5 separate regions of the Homo sapiens genome follow, and regions 1, 2, 3 and 4 are each linked to region 5. The links are contacts of gene promoters, found by promoter capture Hi-C in blood cells and fetal thymus (Javierre and others, 2016). All regions are on one chromosome and are shown on one strand. The core of a region is centred on a gene start or on the middle of the fragment in contact, and the rest is flanking DNA. Distances in the headings are between cores, read along the strand shown. Region 1 overlaps LOC101928009 (a long non-coding RNA gene). Region 2 has its middle 26 kb from the start of PGLYRP3. Region 3 has its middle 3.7 kb from the start of SPRR2G. Region 4 holds the start of SPRR2D (small proline rich protein 2D). Region 5 holds the start of LCE1F (late cornified envelope 1F).

Region 1 (3,666 bases), core at 177-2,676, 400 kb before region 5:
CAGTGCAATAAGGTAAGAAAAATAAGTACAAGCATGGATTGGAAAGAAGAAGCACAAATGTCTTTACTCACAAATGGCATAATTGCCCATGCAGAAATTCCTAAGAAACTTATAGAAATATGTATTGGAACTAATATGGAACTTTATCAAGGCCACAGAATACAAGGTCAATATATAGAAATCAATTATATTTCTATAAACCATCACCACACAATTGGAAATAAAATTTAGAAATAACTTTATGACAGCATAAAAGATAAAATGTTAGTAATATATTTAACAAAAATTTGTAAGTCTGCTACACTGAAAATAATAAAACAATCTGGAGAAAAACTAGACAGGATCCAAATAAATGAAGAGATATAGGTTCACATATTGGATAACACACTATTTTGAATGTATCAGTCCTCTTAAATTGATCTATTTATTCCTTGCAATCCTAATAAAAATCCCAGCTGGCTTTTTTTTTTGGAGGACTTAATGGACCAAATTTAAAATTTACATGGAAATTCAAAGAATCTAGAAAAGTTTAAACAATCTTGGAAAATAACAAAGTTGTAGGTCTCACACTATCTGGTTTCAATACTTACTATAAATGCTCATCAATCAAGAATGTGTGGTTTTGGTGTATGAATACACATATAGATAAATGAAAAGCATAAAGAACTCAGAAATAGACCTACATTTATGTTCAAGTGAAAATGTATAAATGACCAAAAAGCATGTGAAATCCTTAACCATATTATCAGTCAGGGAAATGCAGTTAAAAAGCCCCATAAGATATCATTTCAGACCCACAAAAATGGCTAATATTAAAATTAATGACAAAGCAAGTGTGGCAAGGAGGTGGAGCCCCTGGAACTCTCATACAGTGCTAGTATGAATGTAAGGTGGCACAATCAATGCAGAAAACAATTTGGCGGTTTCTTATAAAGTTAAACATACAACCATGCTATGACCAAGAAGCTCTGCCCCTAAATATTCATTTAAGAGAAATAACATGTCCACGAAAGACTTGTACATAAATATTCGTAACAACTTTGTTCATATAGCCCCAAATTGTAATAACCTAAATGTCCATCTGCAGGTAAATCAATAAATTATGGAAAATTCATACAATGAAATACTGCCTAGCATTAAGAAAACTTAAGAAAGTATTAAAAAAGCAGGAATTTGATGTGTATCAAGACACTATGTTTAGCAAATAAGCCAAACACAGCAGAGTACGTTCTGTATGATTCTATGTATATAAATCATATTAAAACGTGCTTAACAACACTATTAGTCAGGGAAATGCAGAATAAGGAAAACTAACCTATGGTGAGGAATCTGAACAGTGCCTTTGGGAGGGGATTAACTAACTGCAAGGGGGCATTGGAAATATTCTAGATCCCCCTTGCGCTCACAGGTTTCAGGGGCTGTTATGATAGGATTATGGTTTCTATTTACTTTTCTCATTGTTCTAAGTTCTTTGTTGAGATAAAATTACACTACCAGAAATCTACATACTTGAATTATCTTACTCACATTAGCCTTAATGAGACAATGCATTATTGCTGGGCTTTTTCACTTTTACTGACATGGACTGCAAGAACTGGCTATATGAAATCTGAGTCTGCTTTCATCTCGCCCCTTGATAAATGCCTTCTCTGTGAGCCCCAGGAGTGCTAGAAAAAGTAGACTTTGTCACACCCATACCGACATGGTGTGTTTTCTCCTCCAAGGCTCTTCTTCCAGGTAAGGGTAAACTGTTGTTGGTACCTGTACAGCTGCCAAAGTGGAATTTTCTTTGAAAGTCAGAAGTTAGATTTCAGGAATTGAAGTGAATCAAAATTGTTGGGGAAATACTTTTTATGTGTTCCAGACCAGTTTTATCTAGGATAAAAGTTTCCAAGTCTGTCTTATTCATGCCAGTGGGATCTTCTGAGGACAAGAGCACCTTGGACAGGTGGGGGTAGGAGGTAACTAAAACTGACAAGCAGACATGGACAATGGATAAATACATGGGTGAGTAACAAACATGAGTGCATAAAGGAAGTTCCAGGAAGAAGAAAATCCAAAGTCCACGTGTTCCAACTGCTGAACTGAGGTCTAGAAATGTAAAGTAACTTGTCTAGGGTTACATAGCCAATACTAGGACCCAGTTAGCGAGTTGACAGTGCCCTATTCCTTCTCTGGCAGTATCAGGTCTCACCTCCCCTTGCTTGCATGGCCAAGTCTTCATTTCTAGGAGGAAAGAGAAATGAACCGGACTGTAAAAACCATTCAACATTTTTTTTTTTGAGATGGAGTTTTGATCTGTCACCCAGGCTGGAGTGCAGTGGCATGATCTCGGCTCACTGCAGCCTCTGTCTCCGGGGTTCCAGCAATTCTCCAGTCTCAGCCTCCTGGGTAGCTGGGATTATAGGCATGCACCACCACATCTGGCTAATTTTTGTATTTTTAGTAGAGACGGAGTTTCACCGCCCTCAGGTGATCCACCTGCCTTGGCCTCCCAAAGTGTTGGGATTACAGGCGTGAGCCACCACATCTGGCCAAGAAATATTTATTGAGGCCTCATATGTCTTAGGAACTGTGAGGTGCTGGGCATATAGCAGTGGTGAATAACACATGGAATTTAAATTCAGCAAGGATAACAGACATTAAACAAAACAAATGGTTACCTTGATAATTACTTAAGTATAATGGTTACATGTGTCATGAAGGAGTTGTTCAGATTTATAAAAGCATAAAACAGGGAACTAACCTCATCTGAAAGAATCCATGAGAGTTTGCCTGAACCTTGTATGGAACATGAAAGTCCATCAGGGAGAGTTCCTGGCTGAGAGAGCAGCATGTGTGAAGGCTGGGAGGGAAGAACGAACCTGGCACATATCGGGAATAGAGAGACCAGGGCCTGTTAAGCCAAACCCAGGGAGAGGAGCGTTGCATGGACTGGACTTACGGGAACAGCCAAACAATTAGAACCTTACGGGTCAATGTTAAGGCGTTCAACTATTTTTTCTAAGTGTAACAGGAAGCCATTGAAGGAAGGACAGCAGGCAGGATAACACAACTGCCTTTGTATTTTTGAAAGATCATTTTGGCAGAGTGGTGTTTAGCTTATAGGGGATTGGGAGTTGAAGACCAGTTAAGAGGTTCTTACGATTAGTCCAAGTGAGAGATGATGGTACCTGGATGAAGGTAGAAAGAATGAAATGGAGAAAAGTAAATGGAAGATATAGAGGAGATATCAGGTGGAATTGTTAAGCTCACAATATTAGCTCTGATCATTCTAACAATTCCCTGGGTCTGGGACCCATGATAACATCTTAGCAGTCAACATCATAGCACAATTAATAAATACAGTTAGGTCTACCTTACTCTAGGGTACAGCCTGCTGCCTGAGGTATTAAGTGTTTCTTCTTTCTTTTCTTTTGTTTCTTTCTTTTTTTTAAAGCCCAGCATCCATCCAGGTCATTTTCAGCTAGCAAAACTGGATTTCCTGACAGATGCTTCAAATATGTGGCTGACAGTGCAGGTGTTGTCTCAACTTGCCTGGATCTAAAACCAGTGATAATTTGGGCCTGTAGCAAATATATGTAATCCTTTCCCTTGCTTTCCAGTACTCTTTGCACACTGTCACTATGTATGGACTATTTTACAGACTTGTATTCCTTCTCCCCA
Region 2 (3,403 bases), core at 489-2,988, 510 kb before region 5:
GGTGGTGCAGGTGAGCTGGCTCCATGGTCAGGGCTGGGGCTGGGCCAGCCCTGGTGGGTGTGGAGTGGGAGCGCCCTTAGCTGAGCCATTGCCCAGACCTGCCTAATGAGGAGGCAGGGCACCCAGCAGGTACAGGCACAGAAAGGGAGGGAGAATGGCTGGAGATACAAACCTGCTGGGACAGTTGCTTGCTACACGGGTGGGGGGTGGGGGTGGTTGGCATCCTGGTACGTCTGGCCACAAAACTGCTCTTGGCACATCAGGGGCCAGAGTGGTGAGGCTGTCTGTCCCAAGAGTTGGAGGTCAGAGGAACTAAGCCTCCCCTGCCTCCAGGCTGGGGCCCCAGCACTGCCTTGGGACTAGTCTCCTACCTGTCTAGTCTCCTGCTAGCACTGTCCTCATGTATATTCATGCCCACGTTTTACCTCTTTCCCCAAGCTTCCTTCCCAACCCCCTACCACTCAGCAGAGAAAATTGAGGCCATCTGGCAGGATCTCTGTCCACTTCTTGCAACCTTGCAAATGTTCTTGCAACCACATTCCCAAAGCTTCCTTGACATCAGCTTCAGAGGGTCAACTTTTCACTCCTTCCTTCCATCCCATCCTGTTCACATTCCTTGAGCTCTCTTTTTAAACTCATCACTTTTACCTCCTAAATTTATATTTACAGTGGAAACTTTTTTTTTTTTTTTGAGACAGAGTCTCTCTCTGTCTCCCAGGCTGGAGTGCAGTGGTGCGATCTTAGCTCACTGCAACCTCCGTCTCCCGGGTTCAAGCGATTCTCCTGCCTCAGCCTCCTGAATAGCTGGGATTACAGGTGCCCACCACCACGCCTGGCTAATTTTTGTATTTTTAGTACAGATGGGGTTTCACATTGTTGATCAGGCTGGTCTCTTATCTCCTGACCTCAGGTGATCTGCCCACCTCGGCCTCCCAAAGTGCTGCAATTATAGGCGTGAGCCACTGCACCCGACCACATTTTTCTTTAATACAGGTTCAAATTCTGCCATGTATTTATCTCTCAATGTGTGTGTGTCATAGAACATCTAATTCATGCCCAAAGCCAAACTCTTGATCTTGCCTCAAAAGCTCTCCTACCACAGTCTTCCTCACCTCAGTAAATGGCACTTCCACTCTCAGGCCTGGTATTGTGGCCAACTGACCCTGAGCCTGCCCTTAGCTCTCCAAGTGAACTTTGGGCACACCACCCTAATACTGAACCAGGCATGTTGGTAACAGTGTGGTGTTCATATAGTAAGCCAAGGGTGAGATGTGGAAGGACTCTTATGCTTGATTCATGCTATGGAGCCTGCATGGAGCTTCATGATCTGTAGCCAAATGACAAAAACCTTGGGTCACCACTGACTTCTTCTTTCCTCCCATTCTCCTCATCTGGCTGGCTCTGCCTTAAAAATATATTATTTCAGCCACTTCTCAGCCCCTCTCTTGCTACCACTCTGGTTCAAGTCACCTTTACCTGAAGTGCTGCAATAGCCTCTTAATCGGTCCCTCTGATTCTGACGTCCTTCAGCCCTTAAGTCTATTCTCAACACAGAAGACAGAGAGATCTGGTTAAAATCCATGTCAGATCCTGTCTTTCCTCAGCTCAAGACCCTCTGATGGCTCCCCATGTCACTCGCAGTAAGAGCCAAGGTTGTTACCAAGACCTAAAAGGTCCTACATGATCCAGCTTCTCATTTTGTCTCTGACCACACATTCTACTCTTCTTTCTCTCACTGCTCTAGCCTCACTGGCCTCTTTGGTGTTCCTTGACCATCCCAGGCAGGCTTCTGCCTCAGGGTCTTAGCTTTGCTGTTCCCTCTGCCTGCAGTGCTTTTCCCTCAGATACTCACATAGCCCTCTCTCTCATATCCTTCAGGCTTTTACTCAAGTGCCACTTTCTCAATGAGGCTTTTCCTGGTCACCCCACCCACAACTGCAACACCCCTTCCTGCCAGCACTGTCTCCTTTCTTTGCTTTATTGCACCCTCTTTCATACAATGTATTTACCCATTTATCTTGTTTATCTCCCCCAACTAGAATGTCAGCTCTGTGGAGGGTAGGGATTTTCAGCTGTTTTGTTTTCTAGTTCTTGTACATAGTAAGAATCAAAAAAATATTTGTAGAATGAATATATTGAATGCATCTTCACATACTCTCTCTCTTCATGCTCACAGTTTATAAAGATACTCAAGATTCTTTCATCCTGAAACAATTTGGACAAAACAACAACAAAAATAAATCTGTTTTAACTCCACTGCTCTCTCTAGTTACTTTCTAATCTCTTCTTTATTCTTCTCACTCACATCTCTAGAAAGATTATTCTCTTTCTCACGTCTCATTTACTCTGCACTACACTTATGCCCTTACCCCCACTTGGCGCTGCTCCACTGAAATTGCTCTTACTTGGTTTCCTAAGGACGTCGTAAAGCCAAGTCCAAGGGGGCAGTTGTCACTCACTCCTCTTCTTACAGTCTTAACTGTATCTGACACACCTGATTATTTTCTTACATATTTTTGAAACCTTTCATTTCCTGTGGCTCTGGTGGCAATACACCCTCCAGATTTCTTTCTTCTTGTCTTTTCATTGTTTTCCTTAAGGGCTCCTTTCCCTCCCCCATCATGAGGATCCTCTCCATTTGCTTTCCCTGAGTGATGTCACCAGGTATTTTGTCATCATGTCTTCTTAGGCTCCTCCTGGCTGTGACAGCTTCTGGGACATCCTTTGTTTTTGATGACTTTGACAATGTTGAGGATTACTGGTCAGGCATTTTGTAAAATGTCCCTCAATTGGGATTTGTCTAATTTTTCTCATGATGAGAATGGGGTTATGGGATTTTGGGAGAAAGAGTGCAGAGATAGCAATGAGCACACCTAGTAGCCAGATCTTGGTTTCTAGTACCATTCTCTAAGAAATAAACCAAAGCTTCTTGGAGAAATGGCTGACTCTAGGATTGGGAAGAAATATACAATATAAGCTTGGAACCTCTTATAGTACCAGTAAGTAAGGCACTACTCAAAAATAGTAATAGTAAAATGGTGGGGTAAATAAAAAAATATGAGAGCCAACTGAAAGAGTTCTTAACAGCTAAAATCAAACAATTTGAACAAGAACATAAATGAATTAGTATTGGATTATAACCTAGAGCATAAAATAAACATCCATGACTCCATACCAACATAAACAAATAATTGAATAAATAAATAAATGGAAGAGAAGAGAAAAAAGTATTGCAAATAATTTATGTAGATCCTCTGTCCTGAAGAAAGTAGAACGTAACTCCCCACTCCTTAAGTATGGATTGCACATGTGACTTCCGTCCAAAGAGTGCCATGTGCAAAGGGGGAATAAAAGTAACTTTACAGTGGAGAAACCTGACTAATGCTACATTGCCAGATGATCA
Region 3 (3,330 bases), core at 581-3,080, 380 kb before region 5:
GTGGATTTTGGCAGGGCTAATGTAGTGGAAAGATGAGATGTCTGGAAAATCATGAAATCACAGAGTAATTCAGTAGAATATTAAATGTTATTTTTTTCTAGTCACAGAGGTAATAGCATATTCTTTCCCTCAGAACTCACAAGATTGTTGTGACACTCATGTAAGGCAACACAATTTAGAAACTAAAATCATTATTTTTTTAACAACTATTTATCTAGCACGTACTCTGTTTCAGGTATTGGATCATGTCCTGAGTGTAGGTGAAGTTGCAGTCTGACTACTCAAAGTGCTCGCAAGCTCAAGGGAAAAGGATATGGGTGGGGAATCCACTTAATGCAGATGGGTTGCACTTAACACTTAATGCAAAGCTCAGAGTGTTTTATGGGACTCTTAGGTAGGGTCACCTGCCCTAATAGGAGGGATCCAGGAAGGCTTTTCATTGAAGTGATGGCTTTTAGAGAATTGTGTAGACATTAACCCGGTAAAACAATAATAATATGGCATATTACAGGTTAGTAAATAAATTCACTGAGGATAGAAAAAACTGGTATGTCAGCAAAATTACAGAGTTTGATACATGACAGCACACAGTTCAAAAAGTGGAGTAATAAGGAATGAGGCTAGAGGCGAAGGAAGGGCTATGTAATGGACCTAGAACTTAAAGTATTTTAAGCATGCAAGTGATGTAGTCAGATTTTACTTTTTAATGTATCACTCTTATGGCAATGGAAAGATGGATTTAAATCAAACAAGATAGAGGAAGACAGCTATATTAGGAAGCTATGGTAATAATCGAGCAAGAGATGAGGAGGCTCTGAACTAGGGCATGGCAGTCAGCATAGAAGGAGAGAGATGGATTCCAGAGATACTTATGCTGTTGAACTGTCAGAATGAGGAGTTTAGATAAGTAGCATGTAGTAGAGGCGAAAATGTCAAGGTAACTCAAGTAGCTGGGTGATTATTGGTGTACAGGATAGAGAATACTGGAGGTTCAAGTGGTTTGTGGGAAAGATGATCAGCTTGTTGGTACTTGAGGATATTTGGACAGAGATATCTAGAGGGCAAGGGGATATTTAAGTTTGAAGTGAGTTCTGGAGTGCAAATGTAGATGAGTGAGTTAGTAGATTTGTGATGACTGAAACCATAGGAATCATTGATATTGTAACTAGAGAATGCATAGGATGGTAAGATCCATGGAATGAGCACCAGAGGACTCCATTTGGCATTTAGAAGAAGAGGTTCAGATCAAGGAGGAGAAAGATTAAGCACAGGAGTAGGAGAATATTAAGTGGATATTATGAAAACCAGTAAGTAGAGACTCTAGAGAAAGATGGAATGATTGGCACTGTGACATGTAGCAGAGAAGTCTAGGAAGATAAAAACGGAGAATGACTCAGTTTATCTGACAGAAAGCTTGGAATAATTTCAGTAGATGGTGGGCTAAATCCAGACTGCCATGGGTTGAGGGGTTAGTGAGATGTGGGACAGAAGAGACAGCAGTTGTAGATGACTCATTTGACAAACCTCTAGCTAGACTAATAAAGAAAAAAGGAGAGAAGATTCAAATTAATAAAATCAAATATGAAAGAGGAGATATGAAAACTGATGCCATGGATATAAAAAAGATCCTAAGAGACTGCTTATGAACAACTATATAGCAATAAATTGGATAACCTAGAAGAAATTGATAAATTACTAGAAACATGCAACCTACTGAGACTGAATCATGAAGAAATAGAAAATCTGGACAGACCAATAACGAGTAAGGAGATTAAATCAGCAATATAAATACTGTGATCAAAGAAAAATCCAGGACCACATGGCTACAGTAGTAAACTCTACCAAACATTTAAATAACTAATGTATTAATAAATTATTATTAAACTTTTCCAAAAATTGAGGAGAGACCACTTCCAAATTCATTGTATGAGGATGGCATTACCCTGATACCAAAGCCAGATAAGAACATTATAAAAAAATTACAGGCCAACATCCCTGATGAATATAGAAGCAAAAAGATTCAACAAAATACTAGCATACCTAGTAGTCCATTAAAAGAATAATGCAACATGATCAAGTGGGATTTATCCCTGAGATGCAAGGATGGATGGTTCAATAAATTTCTTTCTTTTCTAAAAAAAAAAAAAGATGGTTCAGTGTAGGCAAATCAATAAATGTGATACACTACATAAACAGAATAAAGGATACAAATTGTATGATAATCTAAATAGAGGCAGATAAAGCTTTCCACAAAATACAACATCTTTTCATGATTAAAACACTCAACGAATTAGGTATAGAAGAAATGTATCTCAACATAATAAAGGCCATATGTGAGTAACCCACAGCTAATATATTCGAGGGTGAAAAATTAAAAGCTTTTCCTCTAAGATCAGGAGCAAAGCAAGGACACTCACTCTTGCCATCTCTGTTCATTTCTAATTCTATTATTTTTAAATTCTATATTCTCAAAAACTTAAAGGCATATTATGTAGTAGCAGCATATCTTTATTTATTAAAATAGAAATAATTTTATTGGGAGCTTAAAGAACTAGGCTATAAATGTTAAATCAAGTAAAATCAAATGGCCCTTGGGAAATGTCATCCTCTCTCTCTTTCCCCTTTCCTCTTCTTTCCACTCGCCTGTCTTCTACCCTCTCTACCTTCCTTCGTTTCTTCATTTCTGGGACTCCCATAAAATAGCTTTGTCCTTCTTTTCAAAATCTTTAGGCAAATCAGGAACTTTGGGACCAGGTAATTCAGCCTCATAATTCCCAGCTTTACACGGTTGTTTTACTAGGCTTACTATTTATTTTATTTGCACCTTACAAAAATGTCCGTCAGAGAAGTATTATTATTACCATTTCTCAATGAAGAAACTGAAAATTGCAGAAATGTTAAGAAAATTGCTCAAATTTACACACCTAATTAGGACTTAACTCAATCATTGTGTTTATACAGTGCCAGTTTGCTAACATAGTATTTACTCACAGATTTATTTATTTCAATTTTAAAATATCTTTGAACATTTAAATATTTAAACACTTTGAATAAGCAAAAAATATACATGATACCAAAATTCAAAAGAGAAGAAAATGGTCATGCAGTGAAAAGTTAGTCTCTCCCCCACTCCTATTCCCTAGATACTTAACTATTCTCCTGAGATAACCACGGTTACTAGTTTATAAGTAAACTCCAGCAAACCCTCATGTAGATACTATGTGAGTTTCAGAGGTTTAATTTGCACAGAGTGCTTCAAGTGCCCATTATTTGTGAAAAATGAGGATCATCTGTCCTTTAGCTATTTTCTCTCTCTATAAAAAAACTGTC
Region 4 (3,422 bases), core at 719-3,218, 270 kb before region 5:
TGACTATTAGCTGTCCCTCTTCATGTTATGGCCATTCCTCATGTAGCTGGTCTGTGAGGAACTCTGAGTTTCCAGTTCTCCACGTCAACTTGTAAAGTCAGCCTGTCTGAGATGCTGGGGGCACTAGGTCTGCTGCCACTCTGGTGCCTGCACTGCTGTGATAAGCAGCCTGTTTGAGTGGGGTGTCCTAAGAAGGGGAGTCTCAGGTTGTGACCCAAACTGTGTTATCTCACACAGTGATCTCATTTGGCAGCGAATTCTTCAATTTTGCATGGCAGAAATTAGACATTTCTCTATGGATTTATGTTTTAGATGTGATGTGAGGCTCTTGGGGAGTAGTGGGTGATTTATTGAGTAAAGGACTTTTACTTTGGCTGGTGAAGTGCGTGGCATGTGTAATAGTCTATAGGAAGCATTTGGTGAGAACACCATTTGTAATCACCTGGCCTCAGGGTGCTGACATGATGGCTCTATTTCTGTAGTGTCCTGGCCAGTGGTGATCTTGGCTAAAAGCTCTTCCTTACTGACAGGAGCAACAGCTGTTCTGGGAACCTAACCTACTTAACTGAGGGATGTGATGCTGGCTTGATTCAACACTCTGCCCTTCCTGGAGCACAGTTGGTGACTGCTCCAGTGATTTTGAGTCTTTCCTCTTCCTCATTCTCCTTTCTTCTTATTCACTTATAAAACCATGTTCTTGGGAAGCTTCCCGATTAATGGTCCAGATAAGGAAGCAGTAGCAACATCACTTTAAATGTTTAATATACAGTACTTAGAAAGGCTCACTGATTGTAGGAAGCATTTAAAAAAGTTGTGAAAGGACAATCACTAAATGCATTGACAACATATGTGTTAAGTGAACAATATGTACCAAAATGGACAGATGACAGGTATACATTGGGTATGAGTTGATAATCTAGCAGTTTGTGGGACTAGAAGGTTTATGGAAAAGACAAAGGAAGAACATGCAAACAAATTAAAAAACACTGAGAAACATCTAAAACCTGTTTGGAAATAGAGAGGAAGAATACATATTGGATTACCCTTTGTTTGTATTTTCCCCTTGAGTTAAACTTTAAGTGCTCTTACCTTCCTCACTCTGCACACCTACTTCTAATTATTTACATATGATAATGTCTATGCAGCTTGTTCTCTATAGGATGTTCACAGGGAACCATATATGCATGGTTCCATACATAGATTTTGAGTCAATACTTGTAACTTTAGTTTCCTTCTCTCCATTACTTTTTATAAATAAAAAGGCTGTAGTACACATCCTTGATGGCACCAAGTAGCAAACGTGCTGTGGAGACTAGATCTCACTCTCAAATCTGTCCTGGGATGCAAGTGCCTCTACGAATGTGGTGCAGAAGCTACAAATGTGGTGCAGAAGACAGCTTCAAAGAGGAAAGGAATATAGGTAAAAATCTGAGGTTTTATCTGAGAAAAAGGTGGCAAAGAAAATTTCAGTCTTGAACAGGGTCAGCAGATAGCACAATGTGGTCAGCCTGCAAACCCAGAGGTAAGTATTATTGTCCCCTGTTTATAATCCCAGGGAGGAGAGGTGACATGCCTGTTGTCATGGAACTTAGCAAAGAAAAAGCTTAGCTCAGGCCTTTGTTAAGTCTCTCCTTCCTTCTAGCACATTGGCCAACTGTATGAGGAAAGTAGAGGTAGAGTTGGGTTCATGTACAACAATATGGCATTCAGCTAGAGTGGATCAGGACAGGAAGTTTTATGACTCAGGGGAGGTAAGATAGGAAGGGATCATTGTTCCCAATCAAGAAAGAGAGCCCTTGACAACCGGTTAGAGAATCCCTCCAATTATCTCTCTGACGAAAGTCACTGAAACTGAGATCTAAGGCAGGTTCTCTGTGACTCATGAGCACTTAACCCAGTGGGGAGATCCCAGAACAGGATATTTCCTAGTTTGAGAATGCCTCTCATGCCAGATATGGATACATTTGCATTTTACTTTGGACATTGCTGGACCAGCCCAGTTTTAGGCAGTTCCACTTCCCACTGGGTGGGGCAGAACGTCCTATAAAGAGGTTCCCTGCTGCACAACTCTTAAACTCCTGGTACTCTAGCACCGATCTGCTTTGGAGAACCTGGTGAGTGTGAGTCCTTGAGTTCCTCAGTTCTTTGTGACCTGAAATATTGAATTTAATCTGAAAACAGCAAGTTTGGTTGATACAATTCTGTAACCATGGGTTTGATTCTACTTAGTAGATGGAAATTTAGATTTAGAGTACAGTGATATGCTATTTTAGCTTGTTTCTTGTATACAGTTAGGTGTCCATACGGACAGAGAAGTTAATAGGAAAGCTTTGAATTGAAGAAGAAAAAAGAACAAAGTATTTTTTCCCCATGTTTTCCTGGTGTCTTTTTCAAAGGTTTGTGTCTTAACAGGTGCCAAGAGCCTGCAATCCTTCCCAAACAGCCCTTTGTTCTGTGCTCAAGTCAACCCACTGGGACTTTACTACAGATAATGATAAGAGAAATGGCTTGTGAGATTGCTCATGGTATCTGAACTTGTCACTGCCTTTCCTAAAGATGTTATTTTCACAGAAATAACATGCTTGGTTCATTACTACAGAGATATTTTCTTTGGAAAAATTGTATGAGAAAACACAAGATTTCCCAGGGCCAATGAAGCAATTTGCTAAAGTGGAAGGGAGAAACGAAGTAGTCTTGAAAAGGCAGTTAAGAGTTTAAATAATTTCTTGGAGATGGGGAAATAATATTTCATGGTATTACATAAGCATTAGCTTCTCTCTCTGGAGGAGTCCCTTCCCACAAACACTGTTGTATCATTTCTTTCAGATCCTGAGACTCCAGCAGGATGTCTTATCAACAGCAGCAGTGCAAGCAGCCCTGCCAGCCACCTCCTGTGTGCCCCACGCCAAAGTGCCCAGAGCCATGTCCACCCCCGAAGTGCCCTGAGCCCTGCCCATCACCAAAGTGTCCACAGCCCTGCCCACCTCAGCAGTGCCAGCAGAAATATCCTCCTGTGACACCTTCCCCACCCTGCCAGCCAAAGTGTCCACCCAAGAGCAAGTAACAGCTTCAGGATTCATCAGGAGCATGAGAGGATAAGGATAATTGGCTCACCTCGTTCCACAGCTCCACTTGCATCTTCTCACCAAAGCCTTCCATGGATGCACAGGGAGCTTCTTTCTCCTTAACCTGTGGCCTGCCTGTGATGATCTGTGACAGCAAAAGATTCCCTTTCTGAGGCTGCCATACTGCCACTGTCCAGGTGGAGCTAAGAAAAGGAAGTCCTCAGCTGTGCCAGCTCCCAGAGCTTCGGAAGAAAGAGCAGCAGCTCTCTCCCTGGGAACCATCAGACAATTCTGTTGATGTGTTCTGTGTCTGTCTGTCACCTGGTCATGAGCTTCTACCACCTTTGCAATTGTCAT
Region 5 (3,450 bases), core at 459-2,958:
CTTCCAGGACAGAGTTTGAAATCTTTACTAAAATGTCCCAGCAACACAGTCAGTCCCAAGGAAGATGAAGTTGCCCCTTTCATGCCTCTAAATCTGCTCTTTTAGGCACAGGGTCCACTTCAGCAGCAGCCTCCAGAGTGCTGGCCACTGCCCCCTCCGCAGCAGCTGGAGCCCGCTGAGGGCTGGCTGCAGCAGTCAGAGCTCTGGGGTCTGTGGCGGTGGGACCTACGCCGTCTGTGGTGGCTCAGGCAACAGCCGCCTCCCCCAGAGCTGCAGCAGCCACCACCCCCAGAGCTGCAGCAGCCCCCAGAGCTGGAGCCACAGCAGCCTCCGGAGCTGACGCTGCAGCAGGAAGAGACAGGAGGGCACTTAGGGGGACACTTTGGGGGGCACTTCGGTGTGGGGCACTTGGGAGGGCACTTGGGAGTGCACTTGGGAGGGGGCTGGCACTGCTGCTGGCTCTGCTGGCAAGACATCTCGGTGGCGGGTGTTCAGGAGCTGAAGGAGGGTCAGACAGCAAGTTAGATGGAGGCAGAGGACACCCCTGCCTATTCTTGTCCTTTCTGCATTATTTCTAGATCCTTCATTTTGAAAGCCTTATATCAAACATAGGAAAATCACCTCTAATGTTTTTATCACTCTCAATGTTTACCAAGTGCTTTCATTCATGGATTCTCATTTCAAACCTTATTTGAGATGTTGTCATGCAATATATAATCTCCAAATATGTAAATAAAGTTTCTGCTCATTAAAAGCTCCTAAGTGTGGGAGAGAAGTCCAGGAAATAAATTGGCTCCGGGCCAGCATTCATTCTATCACATCACCAAGAATTCTGAAAATGTTCAATGTTGAGACCAGTTTAGAGATGAAAATCTCTTTAAGGAAAAATCAAAATAAATTTCTATTGGAAGAACTGATATATTTCAGTTTGCAGAAATAGAGAAAACTATAACCGCAAAGGATGTTGGAGTCAATTTGTTCCAACCAACTCAATATATAAATAAAGAAACTGAAGCCAAAAGAGGTAACTTCACTGGCCCAAAGTTATTCATTAACAGTCACATTTGTTCCGGGGTCCCCTGGTTCCCATCCTGGGCTCTGCCCTTTAGCACATCCTGCCTCCCCAGGCCTGTCCCCAGGCACTGTCACATGGCTTTTAAACTCCAGTGTGCACTCAGTTTTCCACTACAGATCTTCTTGTTGGCATCTAACAAGATCCACAGGTGTCTTTGATCCTTTCTTCCTCTAAGTAGCAGTGTTCTCAGCATATCTTTTCTAAAAGTGAGTATGTCTGTATTTCCAAAATTATATTCCCACTATGCAGCCCACTCTAGCAACATCCAGTGGCCAATGTGTTTATTCTCTAAAACCAGAGAAACACACTGAGCAACTGAAAACAATTTGGTTCCTCTAAATCTGTGTCATACAGCCCTTCAGATCTTACCAGTTCTTCTTAATCTCTCTCACTCCACCCCACCCCTCTACCTCCTCTTTCCAATTTTCTGCCCCCACCCCATTCCTTGCCAATCACAATTCCAGGCCCCTGAGGCCCTGCCTAGACTCTACTCCTGCCCTGGTCTGAGTATCCATCCCCTCCTTCCCTGGCCTGGGCATCCCTCTGTGGAAGCCCCTGCTCCTTTTTCCAGGGCACACTTACCAGGATCACAGGCAGCACAGGGTTCTTCAGCACCGCAGGAGGTGAGTGGATGGGATGCTCTGGCCCTGAGCCCTTTTATTCTGTCCTTGGGTGCTGCCTCCAGCGGTGAGACAGAGCCTGGGCATGAGAGGACCTGCCTCCCGACACCCACATAGGTCTTGTGACGAGTGGTGACTGGCAGTTCTGCATATACCGTCCTTCATTGGTGTTCAGGGGAGCTGCTGTCAGCTAGGAAAGAGCTTGGTGGAAATGGGGGCTTGTGGTGGGTGAAAATGGACATCATGGTTCCTGGAGTCCTCCGTGGCCTATTTCCTATGAAGATGGCTCTCTTCACAGTCTTGTAGTCACACTTATGAATTCTGCACAAACAACTCATTTTTCCTTCTATTCTAGATACTAATTTTCCATCTAGACCTTTGGGTCCATATAGCTTGGTTAAAAATCCACATGCCTGCATTATGGGGTTTGTCCATGTGCACATGGGCATGTGTGTGCATCATAGAAGTCGAGAAAAGAGGCCTTGGAGACCCTGGCAAAGTATTCAATATTTTTGGCCATTGGCTTTCTGATGTTTTAAATGAAGATAATAAGAGAAATATCTTTTCTGCAGGATTTACAAATTAATTAAGATAACAAAGGGGAAGTAGCTGAGATAGTATGTGGCATGTGGTTATAATTAGGAAATGGATGAATAGGTAGATAGATAGATAGATAGATAGATAGATAGATAGATAGAAAGAAAAATAGAGGCAAACCTGAGATTTTAATGGACATTGGGAATTTTTAAAGTCACAGGTGCCTTTTAAGTTAGGTGGCTCTTATTAAAACTAAAGGCCATTTTTTTTTCCTCCTACGTACCTCAGTGAATAGGGCTTTCTGAAGGTAGATCCAGAGTGGGTATAAGAAAAGAGGACTAAAGGATGTATATTGCCCCAAATTATAGCATAAAAGAATTTGCAGTTTCCTGAGGAAAAGCTGAAGGGATGAGGTAAAATAAAGATGAGAAGGGTGAAGAGAAGAGAACAGCCAATGAGGTGGCTTTGAACTGTGACTTGGAGTGGTGTAGTTGGTATAGACAAGAATAGACATAGTCAATATTTAATTTGAAATTATTGGCTTTGTTGCAATACACATTTCCTGGGTTTAATTTCCCAGTTTCCCATGCTCAAAACTAACCAAATGCAAAATCTAACAATAAAAAACCAATATTTGAAAAATAAATATGGTCAAAATTACATATAACATCAAAGAATTATTGGATGGTTTTAGCAGATTATAAGTTGCAGAAGAACAGATCGGTGAACTTGAAGAAATTGTTCAAACTGAACTGAAGAAAGGGAAAAATATTAAAAAAATGAACAGATGATCAGTGACCAGTGGAATAATATCAAACATTCTAGCACCCATGTATTTAGAGTTTCAGGAAGAGAACTACAAACCACTGCCCAAGGAAATAAAAGAGGATACAAACAAATGGAAGAACATTCCATGCTCATGGGTAGGAAGAATCAATATCGTGAAAATGGCCATACTGCCCAAGGTAATTTATAGATTCAACGCCATCCCCATCAAGCTACCAATGACTTTCTTCACAGAATTGGAGAAAACTACTTTAAAGTTCATATGGAACCAAAAAAGAGCCCTCATTGCCAAGTCAATCCTAAGCCAAAAGAACAAAGCTGGAGGCATCACGCTACCTGACTTCAAACTATACTACAAGGCTACAGCAACCAAAACAGCATGGTACTGGTACCAAAACAGAGATATAGAACAATGGAACAGAACAGAACCCT

Evidence for each region. Contacts are between HindIII fragments. The CHiCAGO score rates a contact against its expected background, and 5 or more counts as called.
Region 1: a fragment that was not itself captured here is called in contact with the fragment with the promoter of LCE1F in region 5 in 4 of 17 cell types (M1 macrophages, M0 macrophages, M2 macrophages and 1 more); the score reaches 9.2 in M1 macrophages.
Region 2: a fragment that was not itself captured here is called in contact with the fragment with the promoter of LCE1F in region 5 in 3 of 17 cell types (endothelial precursors, M1 macrophages and M2 macrophages); the score reaches 6.8 in endothelial precursors.
Region 3: a contact is called between a fragment that was not itself captured here and the fragment with the promoter of LCE1F in region 5, in 4 of 17 cell types (M1 macrophages, M2 macrophages, erythroblasts and 1 more). The highest score is 6.9, in M1 macrophages.
Region 4: a fragment that was not itself captured here is called in contact with the fragment with the promoter of LCE1F in region 5 in 2 of 17 cell types (M2 macrophages and M0 macrophages); the score reaches 6.5 in M2 macrophages.

What each region holds. Positions count from the first base shown.
Region 1 is chr1:153,174,673-153,178,338 of GRCh38, reverse strand. It overlaps LOC101928009 (a long non-coding RNA gene), which reads right to left. Exons shown (of 3, transcript NR_110685.1): 2 at 1,699-2,226. It also overlaps a transcript of SPRR2G not described here. Among named protein-coding and RNA genes, the nearest start is that of SPRR2G, 26 kb to the right of the region's middle. The HindIII fragment of the contact is 5,568 bases long and covers 1-3,666 here.
Region 2 is chr1:153,285,447-153,288,849 of GRCh38, reverse strand. No RefSeq gene overlaps it. Among named protein-coding and RNA genes, the nearest start is that of PGLYRP3, 26 kb to the left of the region's middle. The HindIII fragment of the contact is 2,378 bases long and covers 550-2,927 here.
Region 3 is chr1:153,152,964-153,156,293 of GRCh38, reverse strand. It overlaps a transcript of SPRR2G not described here. Among named protein-coding and RNA genes, the nearest start is that of SPRR2G, 3.7 kb to the right of the region's middle. The HindIII fragment of the contact is 830 bases long and covers 1,416-2,245 here.
Region 4 is chr1:153,039,770-153,043,191 of GRCh38, reverse strand. SPRR2D (small proline rich protein 2D) reads left to right here and starts at 2,072. Exons shown (of 2, transcript NM_006945.5): 1 at 2,072-2,114; 2 at 2,827-3,422. The coding sequence starts at 2,846. The coding sequence ends at 3,064. The HindIII fragment of the contact is 725 bases long and covers 1,606-2,330 here.
Region 5 is chr1:152,773,398-152,776,847 of GRCh38, reverse strand. LCE1F (late cornified envelope 1F) reads right to left here and starts at 1,708. Exons shown (of 2, transcript NM_178354.3): 1 at 1,658-1,708; 2 at 1-498. The coding sequence starts at 476. The coding sequence ends at 120. The HindIII fragment of the contact is 9,364 bases long and covers 1-3,450 here.